6 separate regions of the Homo sapiens genome follow, and all the other regions are linked to region 2. Evidence: promoter capture Hi-C in human tissues and cell types (Jung and others, 2019). All regions are on one chromosome and are shown on one strand. Each heading gives the region's core, a stretch centred on a gene start or on the middle of the fragment in contact. The rest is flanking DNA. Distances are from core to core; before and after follow the strand shown.

Evidence for each region. Contacts are between HindIII fragments. The study calls those that stand out against the background at their distance.
Region 1: a contact is called between the fragment with the promoter of ZNF771 here and the fragment with the promoter of ZNF688 in region 2, in 1 of the 25 tissues and cell types used here (mesenchymal stem cells).
Region 3: a fragment that was not itself captured here is called in contact with the fragment with the promoter of ZNF688 in region 2 in 1 of the 25 tissues and cell types used here (dorsolateral prefrontal cortex).
Region 4: a contact is called between a fragment that was not itself captured here and the fragment with the promoter of ZNF688 in region 2, in 1 of the 25 tissues and cell types used here (hippocampus).
Region 5: a contact is called between a fragment that was not itself captured here and the fragment with the promoter of ZNF688 in region 2, in 3 of the 25 tissues and cell types used here (lymphoblastoid cells, mesenchymal stem cells and thymus).
Region 6: a fragment that was not itself captured here is called in contact with the fragment with the promoter of ZNF688 in region 2 in 1 of the 25 tissues and cell types used here (dorsolateral prefrontal cortex).

What each region holds. Positions count from the first base shown.
Region 1 is chr16:30,406,176-30,408,875 of GRCh38, reverse strand. It overlaps ZNF771 (zinc finger protein 771), which reads right to left and starts at 1,270. Exons shown (of 3, transcript NM_001142305.2): 1 at 1,212-1,270; 2 at 682-831. The coding sequence starts at 822. RefSeq lists silencers at 1,135-1,344, 1,367-1,546. The HindIII fragment of the contact is 10,608 bases long and covers 1-2,700 here.
Region 2 is chr16:30,570,416-30,573,115 of GRCh38, reverse strand. ZNF688 (zinc finger protein 688) reads left to right here and starts at 1,402. Exons shown (of 3, transcript NM_145271.4): 1 at 1,402-1,682; 2 at 1,993-2,106; 3 at 2,680-2,700. The coding sequence starts at 1,487. RefSeq lists a silencer at 1,395-1,634 and an enhancer at 2,497-2,700. The HindIII fragment of the contact is 17,900 bases long and covers 1-2,700 here.
Region 3 is chr16:30,709,849-30,712,548 of GRCh38, reverse strand. It overlaps SRCAP (Snf2 related CREBBP activator protein), which reads right to left. Exons shown (of 34, transcript NM_006662.3): 8 at 2,421-2,698; 9 at 1,702-1,795; 10 at 1,461-1,550; 11 at 805-978; 12 at 392-714; 13 at 110-287. It overlaps SNORA30 (small nucleolar RNA, H/ACA box 30), which reads right to left and starts at 2,012; the gene lies at 1,884-2,012. The HindIII fragment of the contact is 4,122 bases long and covers 1-2,700 here.
Region 4 is chr16:30,730,114-30,732,813 of GRCh38, reverse strand. The region is part of intron 27 of SRCAP (Snf2 related CREBBP activator protein); the gene reads right to left. Among named protein-coding and RNA genes, the nearest start is that of TMEM265, 9.2 kb to the left of the region's middle. RefSeq lists an enhancer at 964-1,123. The HindIII fragment of the contact is 8,180 bases long and covers 1-2,700 here.
Region 5 is chr16:30,422,937-30,425,636 of GRCh38, reverse strand. DCTPP1 (dCTP pyrophosphatase 1) reads left to right here. Exons shown (of 3, transcript NM_024096.2): 3 at 1,104-2,022. The coding sequence ends at 1,404. Among named protein-coding and RNA genes, the nearest start is that of SNORA80C, 4.5 kb to the right of the region's middle. The HindIII fragment of the contact is 5,048 bases long and covers 1-2,700 here.
Region 6 is chr16:30,389,404-30,392,103 of GRCh38, reverse strand. It overlaps a transcript of ZNF48 not described here. Among named protein-coding and RNA genes, the nearest start is that of ZNF48, 4.7 kb to the left of the region's middle. The HindIII fragment of the contact is 2,143 bases long and covers 183-2,325 here.

The DNA of each region.
Region 1 (2,700 bases), core at 21-2,520, 160 kb after region 2:
TGTACTGCACTACAGCTTGGGTGACTGAATGAGACCCTGTCTCAAACAATAACAACAGTAATAATAAAAGAGCCATTTCCTCTGACTGGGTCCATCACCCCACTTCTGACCCCAGACTCCTACTAGTCTCACATAAGCCATCCTTTTACTTTGAGACCTGTGGCCAGTTACCAAACTGCCCTGGGCCTCAGTCTCCTCATCTGTAAAATGGAATAAATGCTACCGACATCATAGAATCGAGGTGCTTAGAACAGTGCCTGGCACATAGAAAATGCTAGGCAAGGGTTAGCTATTGTTACTGTTGCTGTTGAACTAACCTGACCTTTCCCCAACCTCTAAATCTGAGTTAAGTTCCCACTTCTAGGCTTCATCATCCCCCTGTACCTGCAGCCATCACACGGGATTCTAACTGTGTGGTTACCCTTCAGTCTAACATCAAGCTCCATGGGGGATCCAAGGACGGAGTTTAATCTCCTGCACCCAGCAGGAAGCCTGGGACAGTAGGCGTGACTTTTGTATGATGGAAGCCCAGGCAGTAGGGCAGAAGGATGGGCCAATCCTGAGGTTTTAGATCCGAGATTCTGGGAAAAGTAGGGGCAAGATCCCTGGCTTCTATCTGAGGGAGGCTGGGCCTGGACCAGGTTTGGGGACAGTGTGCCCCAGGGTGTGTGTGACACATACCTCCTTGTTGTCCATGGGGATCTTGAGTTTCACCACCTCATACTTCTCCTCACCCTCATCCTCCTCACCCTTCACCAGCAGCACCATCTCCTCCTGCATCTCTTCCTCCTCCTCTTCCTCTGCCTGCTGTTCGCCAGGCATCTTGGTGTCCTGAGGCGGGGAGCTGGATCAGAAGCTCAGGACCCGCCCCCCCCCACCCCCCCCCCCGCCCACCGTGGCCCTGGCCCAGCAAGGCAGTGCAGCCGTGGCTTCTCCCGCCCTGCCCTGGTCTCCGAATCTGGTCCTCTCCCGTCCACCCCAGCCCGGCCCCACGCTCTGGCACAGCCCCGGGACCAGCTCCGAGGGCTCGCGTTCACCCCACTCATCCCAGCATTCAAGGCCTTGAACAGTTCGAATCTCCAGCCCCCGCAAGTCGCCACCATCCTTGCGCTGAGTCACTCCCCAGGGCCCGGGTCGGCGACCTGGAGCTCTGGGGCACGGGCTGGAGGCGGGATCGGGGCGGAAACCCCGGGGAGGGGGTGCGCACTCACCAGCCGAAGGTTCGGCACTCGCGGTGCCCCAGGCCTGGGCGCCGGGCGGCTGGGCACTCAGCGAGGCCGCGGCTCCGGGGGCGGGGAGGGGGCGGGACCGCAGGGACGGCCGGTCATTGGTCCGAACATATAGCCCCACCCCCTGGGGCGGAGCCCGAAGGACCCAGGCGTCCGGCCCAAACGGCTCGGAGAGGGCGGCGAGCTCAGACTTGGCGTCCTCCGCAGTCCCCCGACTCCCAAGCACCTGGAGCCGCCCCAGCCCGGCGTTCAAGGTCCTTGCCGCCGAGTTCCAACCTAACCTCGCGGCCCGTCTCCTGGGGCCGGCTTGGAGGTCTCCGCTGCGCCCAGTGCCTCTGCTCCGCCCGAAATAGGCCACGTGCGCTCCCGCCCCGGCCTGGGCCTCTCCCTGGCGCCCCGCCTGGAGGGCGGACCCTGTTGCCTCCTCACTTCTTCCATTCCCTCTTTATCTCCTCTGCCGTCTTTTCTCCATCTTTCTCGGCTTCGCCTATTCCGCTGGCCTCTGGGATATCCTTGAATACATCCTAACCAATTCAACATCCACCCAAGCTACCGCTGTCGCGTCATGCGTGGGGTGCTTACCATGCGCCAGCGCTGTTCAGCGTCTTACATACCTGGTCTCATTTGATCCGCATAACGATGGGTCCTGATCCATTTTACAGATGAGCTCACTGAAGTTCAGGGAGGTAAACTGATTTGCCTAAGTTACACGATAAGGATGTCATAGCATCCCTGACAATCAGTAGCCTAGGTGAACAACAGCCCAAAGCTAAATCCAGTCCACAGGGGTACCTTGTTTGGCCCTTAGGGTATTTTTACTTTTAAAAAATCTTTTCGGACGGGCACGGCGGCTCACGCCTGTAATCCCAGCACTTTAGGAGGCCGAGGCGGGCGGATCACGAGGTCAGGAGATAGAGACCATCCTGGCTAACACGGTGAAACCCCGACTCTACTAAACAAAATACAAAAAATTAGCTGGGCGTGGTGGCGGGCACCTGTAGTGCCAGCTACTCGGGAGGCTGAGACAGGAGAATGGCGTGAACCCGGGAGGCGAGCTTGCAGTTAGCCGAGATCGCGCCACTGCGCTCCAGCCTGGGCGACAGAGCGAGACTCCGTCTCAAAAAAAAAAAAAAAAAAAAAAAAAAAAAATCGTTTCAAAGCCGGGCGCGGTGGCTCATGCCTGTAATCCCAGCACTTTGGGAGGCGGAGGCCGGTGGATCACTTGAGGTCAGGATTTCGAGACCAGCCTAACCAACATGGTGAAACCCCGTCTCTACTAAAAATACAAAAATTAGCCAAGCTTGGTGGTGCATGCCTGTAATCCCAGCTACTCGAGAGGCTGAGGCACGAGAATTGCTTGAACTGGGGAGGCAGTGGTTGCAGTGAGCCGAGATCATGCCATTGGTCTCCAGCCTAGGCAACAAGAGCGAAACTCCGTCTCAAGAAAAAAAAAATTAAATTGGGATATTTC
Region 2 (2,700 bases), core at 153-2,652:
GACTTAATATGGAGAAACCCCGTCTCTACTAAAAATACAAAATTAGACGGGCATGGTGGCTCATGCCTGTAATCCCAGCTACTTGGGAGGCTGAGGCAGGAGAATCGCTTGAACCTGGGAGGCGAAGGTTGCGGTGAGCCTAGATAGCGCCATTGCACTCCAGCCTGGGCAAGCCGAGATAGCGCCATTGCACTCCAGCCTGGGCAACAAGAGTAAAACTCCTTCTCAAAGAAAAAGTAGAAATGGCTGGGAACCGTGGCGCATGCCTGTAATCACAGCACTTTGGGAGGCCGAGGCAGGAGAATTGCTTGAGGCCAGGAGTTCCAGACCAGCCTGGGCAACATAGCAAGACCCTGTCTCTGTTTTAAAATTTAAAAATTAGCCAAGCATTGGGTGTGCGCCTGTGGTCCCAGCTACTCGGGAGGCTGAGGTGAGAAGATCGCTTCAGCCCGGGAGGTCGAGTCTGCAGTGAGCTAGGATCGCACTGCTGGGCCACAGAGCAAGACCCTGTCTCAAAACAAACAAAAAATAAATTCATGTATGTTAGCAACAATTACTATTTAATTTAAAACTTCCCCATTCCGATTCCATCCTCACCAAGCACGTTCCTTCGCCTGCAGCTTCGGTCTAGAGCCTGAGCGAGCCGAGCTGCGGATGCCAGGGGCTGGGTGGACTCCGCAGCTAAGCTACTGTAAAACACGCACCTGCTTCTACCGCGGGTGTACACATGGTTTGCCAGGGTGTGCGCGTCTTCCCAAGGGGTCTGGGGACCAAATTCCAGCTCCCGCCATCGGGAGGCACGGTAAGAGACCGTAGGGGACACAATCCCGAGCACCGCAGATGCCGAGGTCTCCGCTGCGCTCCAGTCTGTCAACAGAGGCTTCAGGACCGCGGGGTCCCTTCAAATGCCCCGCCAGTCCCAGGCCAATCACCGCGCAGCTTCTTCCGGGATCGTCGCCAATCATCGGCCGTTGCGTATTGCGGGTACAGAGGGGTAAGTGAAGCTTCGGGCCCTTACATCTTTCTTGAAGGCAAGAAGCCTCTCCTCTACTTCCCAGACACCCCGCCTCCCCCACTAGAAAAAGCAGCCGAAGCGGCTTTATTTAAGGGCAAGTGGGACGATGAGGCCAGAGAAGTCAGAAAGGCTCCATATTTGATATGGTCAAATAATGGCGCCCTTAAGAGCAGCCTGTGACAATTGAAGGGTGGTCGCCATATTTTCAGAAGGCACCTTCCGGGTCCCTTAACCCGGGTGTCTATGTCCAAGCGGCCATGAAGTGAATAAACACTGAGGAATTATATTTGTCCCTATCAGAATCCTCGAATCCCTAGCAGCCAGTCCCTGCTACTTCGGTTGCCTCGGCTGCGTTCGGACGCCACGGCTGGGCGGGGCCGCCCTTCCTGTGGACAACGACAGCTGAGGCCGGGAGCGGGGAGGCGGCGGCTCCAGGGACCTGGCGGCCGCCGATCGGGGCTGCGAGGCCCCATGGCGCCGCCCCCAGCCCCGCTCCTGGCGCCGAGGCCCGGGGAGACCCGGCCTGGTTGCAGGAAGCCCGGGACTGTGAGCTTCGCGGACGTGGCCGTGTACTTCTCCCCGGAGGAGTGGGGCTGTCTGCGGCCCGCGCAGAGGGCTCTGTACCGGGACGTGATGCAGGAGACCTACGGCCACCTGGGCGCGCTCGGTGAGAGCCCCGGGTCCGAGCCCCCTCCTCCTTCACCGGGTTCACAGGGGAGATGATGTAGAAGGGCCGAGAGGACTGTGAGCCCTAATCCCGCACTCTTGCACCAACACCAGCAGCCACCTCCCGTTCCCAGGGCTTCAGGTACCCCCTCGGGAGTGTTTTCACCCGCATCCATTTCATTCAGGCAGCAGCACTGCAGCCCCTTCCAGGTTGAGTATAAGCTCCGAGGGGGTGCCCTCAGCCTGGAGGGGAATGCCATCTTCCCACGATGGCCTCTCAGGCCCGCGCTGTGATCCCTGTTCTCTCCCAGGATTCCCAGGCCCCAAACCAGCCCTCATCTCTTGGATGGAACAGGAGAGTGAGGCTTGGAGCCCCGCCGCCCAGGATCCTGAGAAGGGGGAAAGACTGGGAGGAGCTCGGAGAGGTGAGGGATAGTCCCGGGTCCCCCCACTTGGTTTTCCAGGGCTTCCTGTCTAGCAGAGTTTCTTTTCAGGCCCCCACTTCCAGCATCCCTAAAGAAATTCAACTGTGTTGGGTACTAGAGGAGTAAAGAAGGCAGACCTGGTACAAAGTTTTCAGAACATGGGACAGCGGTCCTGTGAGGACTGGGAGCCCAGTCCAACCAGGCACTCCAGCCTGGGTGACAGAGTGAGACTCCGTCTCAAAAATAAATAAATAAATAAATAAATAAATAAATAAATAAATAAATAATAGCCCCTGCTTCCTGAGCACTTCCTAAGTGCTTAACATGCATCTACTCAGCTAAACCAGTAACGCTGTGAAGTCAAAAGCCATTATTATTCCCATTTGATGCATAAGGAACCAAGGCTCAGATAAGGCACTTTTAGGAGATCTGAATCCTGTTTACCTTGTTCTAAAGCCTGTGTGTTAATCACTGGACAGAACTTCCCTCACTGCCTTAAGTGAAAAGCATTCTATAACCTGAGACAGTCTGTGCAAAAGTGTTTGTAAGTGTAACTTAATTCCGGTTTCCCAGGAGATGTCCCAAACAGGAAGG
Region 3 (2,700 bases), core at 110-2,609, 140 kb before region 2:
TAATGACCGGAGTCAATAAAGCAAAAGTCAATGAAGCTGGAGTCATCACTGAACAAGCTCCCAGGGAGCTAGACTAGGGGGAACAAAAGAAGGGGCCTTGCCTACTTACCTTTCTCACAAGCCAAGTGGGCAAGCAGAGAGATGGTCTGGATGGTCTTCCCAAGCCCCATCTCATCAGCAAGAATGCCATTAAGCTTCTTCTCATACATGGTAACCAGCCAGTCTAGCCCAATGTGCTGGTACTCCCGGAGCTGGCCCCGCAGAAGCAGGGGAATGGGCGTCTTTACCTGTCAGAGAGGAAATATAGGTAACACAATGGAAATGAGGCATTTGTTGTGGGGACATGAGAAAGTCAAGACATGAGAAAGGAGAGGCCAGAACCTGGGGATACCTGGGTCGTGGCCAGCGTGTAACCCTTGGGCTGGAGACTTTCAGCTGCTGCAGCAATGTCAGTAATTTCTTTCTTTGGACCTAGAGTAGTGGGCCCTGGAGTAGGAGGCCCACTGCCTGCATCTGCCTCACTCTGCTCTTCATCCCTGGCAAGCAAGTACTCCACCCCAAAATCATCATCTTCCTCCTCTTCATCTGCTTGGCTCTGTGATTGGGCATCCTCAGACTCTTCAGACTCAGATTCCTCTGATGCTGAACTTCCACTTGTTTCTTCCTCCTCTGAATGTTCATCTTCCTCATCCTCACTCCGGTCCTCCACAGAGTCTAAAGGGTAAGACCAAGGCTTACTGCTCATCATACCTGCTCTTCCAATGGCCACCCTCCCCAGCTCCTGCTTCATGACCACATATTCACCTGACTGACTGCTACTATCCTCCTGAGGAGGCTCTTCCGCTTCCACGGGCCCCTCTGGTTCACAGTCAGAGCTATTAGCATCAACCTCATCTTCATCCTCATCTTCACTGCTCCCAGAGCCTGGGGCATAGGCTCCTGCATACTGCTGCAATAGCTCCTCCATGGAAAGCTCACCTGGAAGAGAAACAAAAAGCTTTTGGTTGCTCTGAGGGGAGGGAGAAGGGGAGGTCTGAGTAGTACCAGTTAATTTTACCTAGGTCTCTGTAGATACTGCTAGGCCCAGGTCTGAGGGGAGGCAAAAGAGCTTACTTTCAGCATCAGCTAGCAAAGCCAAGCCCCACAACCTGGGGGAAGTACCATGGGAATTGGGAAGAACATTATCAACCTGGTGAGCCTCTCAAGGTCCAGGTCAAATGCTGTCAGTATCTTCCTACATTAGCTCTTCCCTCCATTTCACTCCCACATCACCATTTAAACTTCTATCATAAGCACTCATCACTTTCTACTTATCATTACTGGTTTACAAGTCTGTCTTAGTCATTAGACATGGAATTCCTCCAGGGTGGATACAAAGTGCCTTATTCATCTCTTTATCCTTGGTACTGCACACCGCAGACACCAAGTGGATGCTTAGTAAAATGTCTGGTAAATGTCACCTTCTCGAGCCAACTCGCTCAGCTCCATGGCATGATCCACCTCCCCTTCCAACTGTTCCTCAGCTGCTATAGTATCCTCTTCATCCTCCGCTAGGAAAGAGACAGAAGCAAGATTAATAGGGATAGAGGCTAGAGGCACAGGACACAGTCCAAATGAAACAGATGAGAAAGCCTGAAAGGTTAGGTCCAGACAATTCATTCAAGGGGTAAGGGGCAATAGGACAAACCGAACAGCCCTGACCTTCCTCTTCGTTGGCAGTAAACTCTTCATCATCTTCATCTGGATGCCAAGGCTGTTTGTTGCGCTGTGTGACAGCAGAGGGTGGGGGCTTTATCTGTATGGCAAAAGATAAAAAAGGGAAGGGTCTAAGGTTACAGTAGCAGAAGAATGGCACAAACTTGAAAAAGGTGTCACAGGAGAATCACTGTCCCATTGAGTGACAGTTGCCACTGGTATAATCCCAGGGCAAGAATACAATCAAGGGTTTTCTCTCAGCACCAGCTACCAAATCCTGGCCCCACTGCCTGGGGAAGGAACTGTGAAAGTGCCAGGTAACAAATAAAGGCACCCAACACTTCCCCATGCACTTGAGACATATGGAGAAACAGAAAAGACTTAAGGGTACCATGCCAGCTTCCAACCTGTAAGCCAATAAGGGAACATTAGGGCATGTTCAGAGAAGTGGCAAGTAACGGTCAGAGGAAGTACTTTTTCAAGACCACACAGCAATTTAAAGAGGAAAGTGCAATACGCTCTTCCACTATAGCGCCAAAACCTGCCAATCACAAAATGCAACTTGCCCCAAACAGATTCTTCCCCAGTCATCCCCAAAGAGCCCAAATGTCCATTACTAGCAGAACTCCTAAAACTCATAACCAACCTCACAGCCCGGAACTCAGACCCTGAACCTCTCCCTCTGTTCCCCCTCTGAACCCTCCCTCTGCTCCTTCTGCCTATACCTCCAACACCTGAGGGGGCTCTTCTTCAGCACCTTCTTCAGGCCCATCTCGGGTGTCACTATCATGAGATGAGGGGGTTTGAGAGGGGCTGGAAGGCCCTTCCAACAGCTGAGGGGGAAGGGAACGGAGCAGCTCTTCCAGTGGCAATTCTCCCTCACGGCGAAGCAGCTCAATCTCACGCCTCTGGGCCTCTGCATCATTGCCTTCCTGTTGTTCTTCAACTTCAATCGTTTCCTCATCATCCTCTTCCTCATCCTCTTGGGGTTGAAAGTCCCCATCT
Region 4 (2,700 bases), core at 41-2,540, 160 kb before region 2:
TTCCTTTAAGGGCTTCACCTCTTCGGTCTGCTCCAGCCTAGAATCTAACTTCTTGGAGTCTAAAAGAGTAGGGGAATACATAACATCGAGGGAAAAACAGAATCCCCAATGCTTTATGAGCAAGAGATCCTTAAGTATTACAATAGTCATACCACCTGAAATCCAGAACAGATTCACAGGATAGATATCAACAAATCCATGGTCACAGCTTACAGACAGGGATTTAAGGTCACAGATCAGAACAGTAAAGGCTCTTAGAAAGTTTATCTAGTTCAACCTTCCATCAAACACAGAAATAACTTCAACATTTCTGGTAACACAGTTTGAACTTTTATTTTTTTCCTTTTCCTTTTTTTTTTTTTGAGACAGAGTTTTGCTCTTGTTGCCCAGGCTGGAGTGCAATGGTGGAATCTCAGCTCACGGCAACCTCCACCTCCTGGATTCAAGCAATTTTCCTGCCTCAGCTTCCCGAGTGGCTGGGATTACAGGCATGTGCCACCACGTCCGGATAATTTTGTATTTTTAGTAGAGACAGGGTTTCTCCATGTTGGTCAGGCTGGTCTCCAAATCCAGACCTCAGGTGATCCACCTGCCTCAGCCTCCCAAAGTGCTGGGATTACAGGCGTGAGCCACCGTGCCCAGCCTGAACACTTTATTATTTCATTTTTTGAGACAAGGTCTGGCTCTATTACCCAGGCTGGAGTGCAGTGGTGCGATCTCAGCTCACTGCAACCTCTGCCTCCCGGGCTCAAGCCATCCTCCCACCTCAGCCTCCCAAGTAGTTTGGACTACAGGCGTATGTCACCACGCCTGGCTAATTTTTGTATTTTTTGTAGAGACAGGGTTTCGCCATGTTGCCCAGGCTGGTCTCCAACTCATGAACTCAAGTGATCCACTCACCTCAGCCTCTCAAAGTGCTGGGATTACAGACATGAGCCACCAGGCCCAGCCTTATTTTATTTTTGAGACAAGGTCTCACCCTGTCACCCAGGCTAGAGTGCAGTGGCATGATCACAGCTGACTGCACCTCAACCTCCCAGGCTCCTGCAATCCAGCCATCTGAGTAGCTGGGACTATAGGTGTGCACCACTATATCCACTAATTTTTCAGTTTTTGAGGAGACAGGGTTTCGCCATGTTGCCTGGGCTGGTCTTTACTTGCCTCAAGTGAGCTGCCCACCTCAGCCTACCCAAGTGCTGGGATTACAAGTATGAGTCACCACACCCGGCCTTGAACACTTTTAACCAAGACTTTCAGTTCATCTACTCTGAATAGTTTCAAATGTAACAAAAACACTTTTTTTTACTAAAACATTTATTGAACACATATTAATAAAAATTTTGATTTTCTTATATTCTAGGAAATTTAAAAAATCTCGAAACATGTTACTATACAAATGTCTGTGCAGGGCTGTGGAACTAGTCACTTACCCAATAGCCATTCTTGGGTAAAAGAACCTGATTAACCCTGGACAGCTGGCAGAGGTTCTTTGCTCCCAGGTGAAGAAGGCCCCAACCCAAACCCAGAAAATAAATCAAGTTGATCTAAATAAGCCAGAGGTCTTTTTTGCTATTCCCCTTTGTCAGTGATTGCTCTAAGTATGGGCATATAGCTCAGTTTGAGCCAATGAGTTATGAAGCAAAGTCAGCTTGGAGGTCTTTTGTTCCCAGAAAACCTTCTCAGAGTGTTTTGTCTCAACCCCTTGTTTCTTGTTTAGAGGATTGGTGTATACCCTGGAGTTATGGCAGCCATCCTAACATCATGAAGAAACAAAAGCATGAGAATAAAAAGATAAAAAGCTAAAGATGGTACAGCAGGGTAGAAAGATAAAGTCCTGGTCCCTTAAGGCTGGGTGCAATGGCTCACGTGTGTAATCCCAGCACTTTGGAAGGCCGAGGCAAGGGGATCACGAGGTCAGGAGTTCGAGACCAGCCTGGCCAACATGGTGAAACCCTGTCTCTACTAAAAATACAAAAAAATCACCCAGGCGTTGTGGTGGGCACCTGTAATCCCAGCTACTCGGGAGGCTGAGGCAGGAGAATACCTTGAAACACAGCGAAACTCCATCTCAAAAAAAAAAAAAAGGCTGGGCGCAGTGGTTCACACCTGTAATCCCAGCACTTTGGGAGGCCAAGGTGGGCAGATCACGAGGTCAGGAGATCGAGACCAGCCTGACCAACATGGTGAAACCCCGTGTCTACTAAAAATACAAAAATTAGCCGGGTGTGGTGGTGTGCACCTGTAATCCCAGCTACTCAGGAGGCTGAAGCAGGAGAATCGCTTGAACCCAGGAGGCGGAAGTTGCAGTGAGCCGAGATCGAGCCACTGCACTCCAGCCTGGGCGACAGAGTGAGACTCTATCTGAAAAAAAAAGAAAGAAAGAAGGAAGAAAAGGTCCTGGTCCCTGAAAATATCGTTAAGCTACTGAAACAGCTACACACCACTATTCTCAGATTGGCTCATTAAGAAAACAATGACTGTTAGTTGGTTTTCTGTTACCGCCAAATAATTCTAGTCAACACAAAAAGGTCCTTGTCTTTTCCAAGACCAAAATTTACTGTTTACTTACTGTGCAGTCTTGTACCACCAGACATCTTTTCCCATACAGCTAAATAAAAACTCTATGCTGCACTGTCTTACTTGCTATTGTATCCCAAATGATTAGCAAAATGTAACATGTTCACAAAATGATCACTGAAT
Region 5 (2,700 bases), core at 14-2,513, 150 kb after region 2:
GTTTCACCTTGTTGGCCAGGCTGGTCTCGGACTCCTGACCTCAGGTGATCTACCCACTTCACCCTCCCAAAGTGCTGGGATTACAGGCATGAGCCATGGCACCCAGCCAATTTTTTTTGTTTCATTTTGTTTTGTTTTGTTGTTTTTTTGAGACGGAGTCTTGCTCTGTTTCCCAGGCTGGAATGCTGTGGTGCGATCTCGGCTCACTGCAACCTCTGCCTCCTGGGTTCAAGAATTTCTCTGCCTCAGCCTCCTGAGTACCTGGGATTATAGGTGCCCACCACCATGCCCAGCTAATTTTTTTGTATATTTAGTAGAGACGGGGTTTCACCATCTTGGCCAGGCTGGTCTTGAACTCCTGACCTCATGATCCACCCGCTTCAGCCTCCCCAAGTGCTGGGATTATAGGCGTGAGCCACTGCGCCAAGCCTGATTTGTGCTTTTAAAAGATGGTGTGGGCCGGGTGCGGTGGCTCATGCCTGTAATCCCAGCACTTTGAGAGGCCGAGGAGGGCGGCTCACCTGAGGTCAGGAGTTCGAGACCAGCCTGGCCAATATGGCAAAACCCTGTCTCTACTAGAAAAACAAAATTAGCCGGGCATGGCGGCACATGCCTGTAATCCCAGCAACTCGGAAGACGGAGGCAGGAGAATCGCTTGAACCCGGGAGGCGGAGGTTGCAGTATCGCCCCATTGCACTCCACTCCAGCCTGGGCGACAGAGCGAGACTCCGTCTCAAAAAATAGAAAAGATGGTCTGGGCAGGAGTAGAAGATGAGCTAGCCAGGAGATGAGTGGGGAGGCTTCTGCAGTGGTCCAGGTCCGAGGTTTGGTCTGTGGTGGTGACGGCTAGGGCTGGAGAGAATTAGAATTGGGCCTCAAAGCTTTGTCTCAACAGATGAAACATTCTTTTGGCCACTCCTTGGCCCAGGGAGAGACACAGACATCTTGGTATCATCTGTCGGGGTCTCTTCCCCACCTGACTCTTCCCAGGGCCCAGATTGGTTAGGTCGTCCTTGGAGGTGGGTGTTATTACTGCAAGGACTGGCAGAGCCCATTGCCCCAGGTTACATCTGAGTGTGTGTCTGTCTGTGTTCTGCCCCTAGTCAGTGGAAAACCGATGGGGAACCTGGCCCCCAAGGCTGGTCCCCCAGGGAACGGGCAGCCCTTCAAGAGGAGCTTAGTGACGTCCTCATCTACCTGGTGGCATTAGCAGCCCGCTGCCGTGTGGATCTGCCGCTAGCAGTGCTCTCCAAAATGGACATCAACCGGCGACGCTACCCAGCCCATCTGGCCCGCAGCTCTTCCCGCAAGTATACAGAATTGCCCCATGGGGCCATCTCTGAAGACCAGGCTGTGGGGCCTGCGGACATTCCCTGTGACTCCACAGGCCAGACCTCAACCTAGAAAGATGGCCACAGGACTTGCAACTCAGGGTGGTGTCTGAAGAGCAGAGAGTGGCCTGGCCCTGGAGCCTTTTTCTAGTCTTTTCAGAATAGATCATGGGCCTGAGGCCTCCACTTCTTGAGGTCTGAGGCCCAGCAGCCTCTAGAAGGTAGCCTCCTGGTGTTTGTTCTCCCAGTAAAATGGTTTTGGGCGATAACTTCTAGATTATTCCTGGATGGCCAGGGAGGCTCTCTGTCTCAGCAGGTGATGACGGGGGTACCAGGGGTGCCTCTGAGACCCATTCTCGTGTTTCCCTGTTGTACCTTTTGCCTGCAGGGCAGAGAGATCTGGTTTCTAGCAAATTCCCAGTAGGATGTCATGTAAGTTCCTTCCCCCTCTTAGAGATTGAAGGCTGTAAGAGTCCAGATGGTGGAGCCAGGCTGTCTGGGTTCAAATGCCATCTTTGACACTTGCAAGCTAAATGACATTACTCAAATTAATCGTTCTGCACTTCAGCTTCCTTGTCTATCAAATAAAAAGAATAGTACCTGCCCAATAGGGTCGTGAGGTTTCAATGAGTTATGTGAATGCTCAGGGCGGGGCCTGGCACATAGTAAAGTACACTTGGTAAGTTTTGCAGTTACTGTTATTACCTGTTTTCCTTTTTTTTTTTTTTTTGAGACAGAGTCCTGCTCTTGTAGGCCTGGCTGGAGTGCGGCGGTATGATCTCGGCTCTCTGCAACCTCTGCCTCCTGAGTTCAAGCGATTCTCATGCCTTAGCCTCCCAGTAGCGGGGATTACAGGTGCCCACCATCACGCCCAGCTTTTTTTTTTATTGTTTTGAGACGGAGTCTCACTCTTTCGCCCAGGCTGGAGTGCAGTGGTGTGATCTCGGCTCACTGCAAGCTCCACCTCCCGGGTTCACACCATTCTCCTGCCTCAGCCTCCCGAGTAGCTGGGACTACAGGTGCCCGCCACCACGCCCGGTTACTTTTTTGTATTTTTAGTAGAGATGGGGTTTCACCATGTTGGCCAGGCCGGTCTTGAACTTCTGACCTTAGGTGATCTGCCCACTTTGGCTTCCCAAAGTGCTGGGATTACAGGCCTGAGCCACCGTGCCCAGTCGTTTGCCTTTTTATTTATTTATATATATATTTTGAGACTGAGTCTCGCTCTGTCACCCAGGCTGGAGTGCAGTGGCGTGATCTCAGCTCACTGCAACCTCCGCCTCCCAGGTTCCAGCGATTCTCCTGCCTCAGCCTCCCAAGTAGCTGGGATTAAAGGTGCATGCAACCATATCCGGCCAATTTTTGTAAT
Region 6 (2,700 bases), core at 5-2,504, 180 kb after region 2:
TTCCAGTTAGCCGAGATCGCGCCACTGCGCTCCAGCCTGGGCGACAGAGCGATACGCCGCCTCAGGAAAAAATAAAATAAATAAAAAGATACAAAAAAGTTAGCTGGGAGTGGTGGTGCACACCTGTAGTCCCAGCTACTTGGGAGGCTGAGGTGAGAGGATCTCTTGGGCGCGGGAGGTGAAAGTTGCAGGGAGCTGAGATCATGCCACTGCACTCCAGCCTGGGTGACAGAGCAAGACCCTATCCCACCCCCACCCCCCCGCCAAAAAAAAAGGAGAAAGAAAAGGAAAGAGAAAGAAAACCTTAGGCTGGAATCAGTGGCTCACGCCTATAATCCCCACACTTTGGGAGGCTGAGGCAGGTGAATCACCTGAGGTCAGGAGTTCGAGACCAGTTTGGCCAACATGGTGAAACCCCATCTCTACTAAAAAATACAAAAATTAGCCAGATGTGGTGGTACGCGCCTGTAATCCCAGCTACTCGGGAGGCGGAGGCAGGAGAATCGCTTGAACTCGCGAGCCGGAGGTTGCAGTGAGCTGAGATCACACCACTGCATTCCGTTCTGGGCAACAGAACAAAACTCTGTTTAAAAAAAAAAAAAGAAAAGAAAAAGACTGCCAGGAGCAGTGGCTCACGCCTGTAATCCCAGCACTTTGGTAGGCTGAGGCGGGCGGATCATGAGGTCAGGGGTTGGAGACCAGCCTGACCAACATGGTGAAAACCTGTCTCTACTAAAAATAAAAAAATTAGCTGGAGGTGGTGGTGCTCACCTGTAATCCCAGCTACTCAGGAGGCTGAGGCAGGAGAATCATTTGAACCCGGGAGGCAGAGGTTTCAGTGAGCAGAGATCACTGCACTCCAGCCTGGGCGACAGAGTGAGACTCCGTCTCAAAAAATAAAAATAAAAGAAAACCTAATGTGTGCTAGAAGCTTGAGATCCAAAGATGACTATGGATTACGACCTATCTTCAGAGAGGAAAATAGAGAATAGTTCCGTTTTAATGTGCCGTGAGTTTACATATTAGGAAAGCAGTGAAAGATGAAGATAGAATGTAAGTTTATTCGGCCGGGCGCAGTGGCTCACGCCTCTAATCCCAGCACTTTGGGAGGTCAAGGTGGGCAGATCACGAGGTCAGGAGATCGAGACCATCCTGGCTAACACATTGAAACCCTGTCTCTGGCCAGGCGCGGTGGCTCACGCCTGTAATCCCAGCACTTTGGGAGGCTGAGGTGGGCAGATCACGAGGTCAGGAGATCGAGAGCATCCTGGCTAACACGGTGAAACCCCGTCTCTACTAAAAATATAAAAAAAAAATTAGCCAGGCGTGATGGCGGGCGCCTGTAGTCCCAGCTACTCAGGAGGCTGAGGCAGGATAATGGCATGAACCCAGGAGGCGGAGCTTGCAGTGAGCCGAGATCACACCACTGCACTCCAGCCTGGGCGACAGAGAAAACTCCATCTCAAAAAAAAAAAAAAAAAAAAAAAAAAAAAAAAAAAAAACCCGTCTCTACTAAAAATACAAAAAATTAGCTGGGCGTGGTGGCAGGTGCCTGTAGCCCCAGCTACTCGGGAGGCTGAGGCAGGAGAATCACGTGAACCCGGGAGGGGATGTTGCAGTGAGCCCAGATCGCACCACTGCACTCCATCCTGGGCGACAGAGCGAGACTCCGACTCAAAAAAAATAAATAAATAAAAATAAAAAAGAATGTAAGTTTATTCATTTGTTCCACAAACATTTCCTGGGTATCCATCAGGTACTGGGCATTTGTGCTGGGAAATAGAAGAGGGTATAAATGGTCAGCATGCCTGCCATATTCATTTGCAGAGCTGCCTAACTCTGACTTTGAGAGGACAAATCCTATAGTTATTAGATCTGAACTTGAATTAATGTCTAAAGATATAGAAGTCCCTCAAGGGATGCAAGGGGTGGGGAAGAGGTAACTGTGAAGACATGATGGCAAGATGAAGAAGAACTAATACGGGCTGGGCATAGTGGCTTACACCTGGAATCCTAGTGCTTTGGGAGGCCAAGGCAGGAGAATCATTTGAGGTCAGGAGTTTGGGACCAGCCTGGCCAACATAGTGACCCCATCTCTAAAAAGAAAAAAGAATTAGCCAGGGATGGTGTTGCAAAGCTATAGTCCCAGCTACTTGGGAGGCAGAAGTGAGCCCAGGTGTTCAAGACTGCAATAACCTATGATCGCACTACTACATTCCAGCCTGGGCAACAGAACAAGACCCTGTTTCTAAAAAAAAAAAAAAAAAAAAAAAAAAAAAAAAAAAAACTAATCCAAATGACTAAATAATTACTAAATGGGAAGAGAGCTGTCCACCACACACTGCCCTATATGAAACTCAAGGTACTGCCTTCCTTTGTCAAAGCAAACAAGCCCCAAATATCATATGAATGATTCGCCATAATTAGTTGGAATTAATAAGCATGGAAATGGACTATGGTGTCACTGTTAATTCATATAAACTCTACATTTAACACAATGACCAAGCAAGAGCCTTTTTTTTTTTTTTTTTGAGACAGAGTCTCACTCTGTTGCCCAGGCTGGAGTGCAGTGGCACGATCTCGGCTCACCACAACCTCTGCCTCCCAGGTTCAAGCAATTCTTCTGCCTCAGCCTCCCAAGTAGCTGGGATTACAGGCGCGCACCACCATGCCCAGCTAATTTTTGTATTATTATTATTT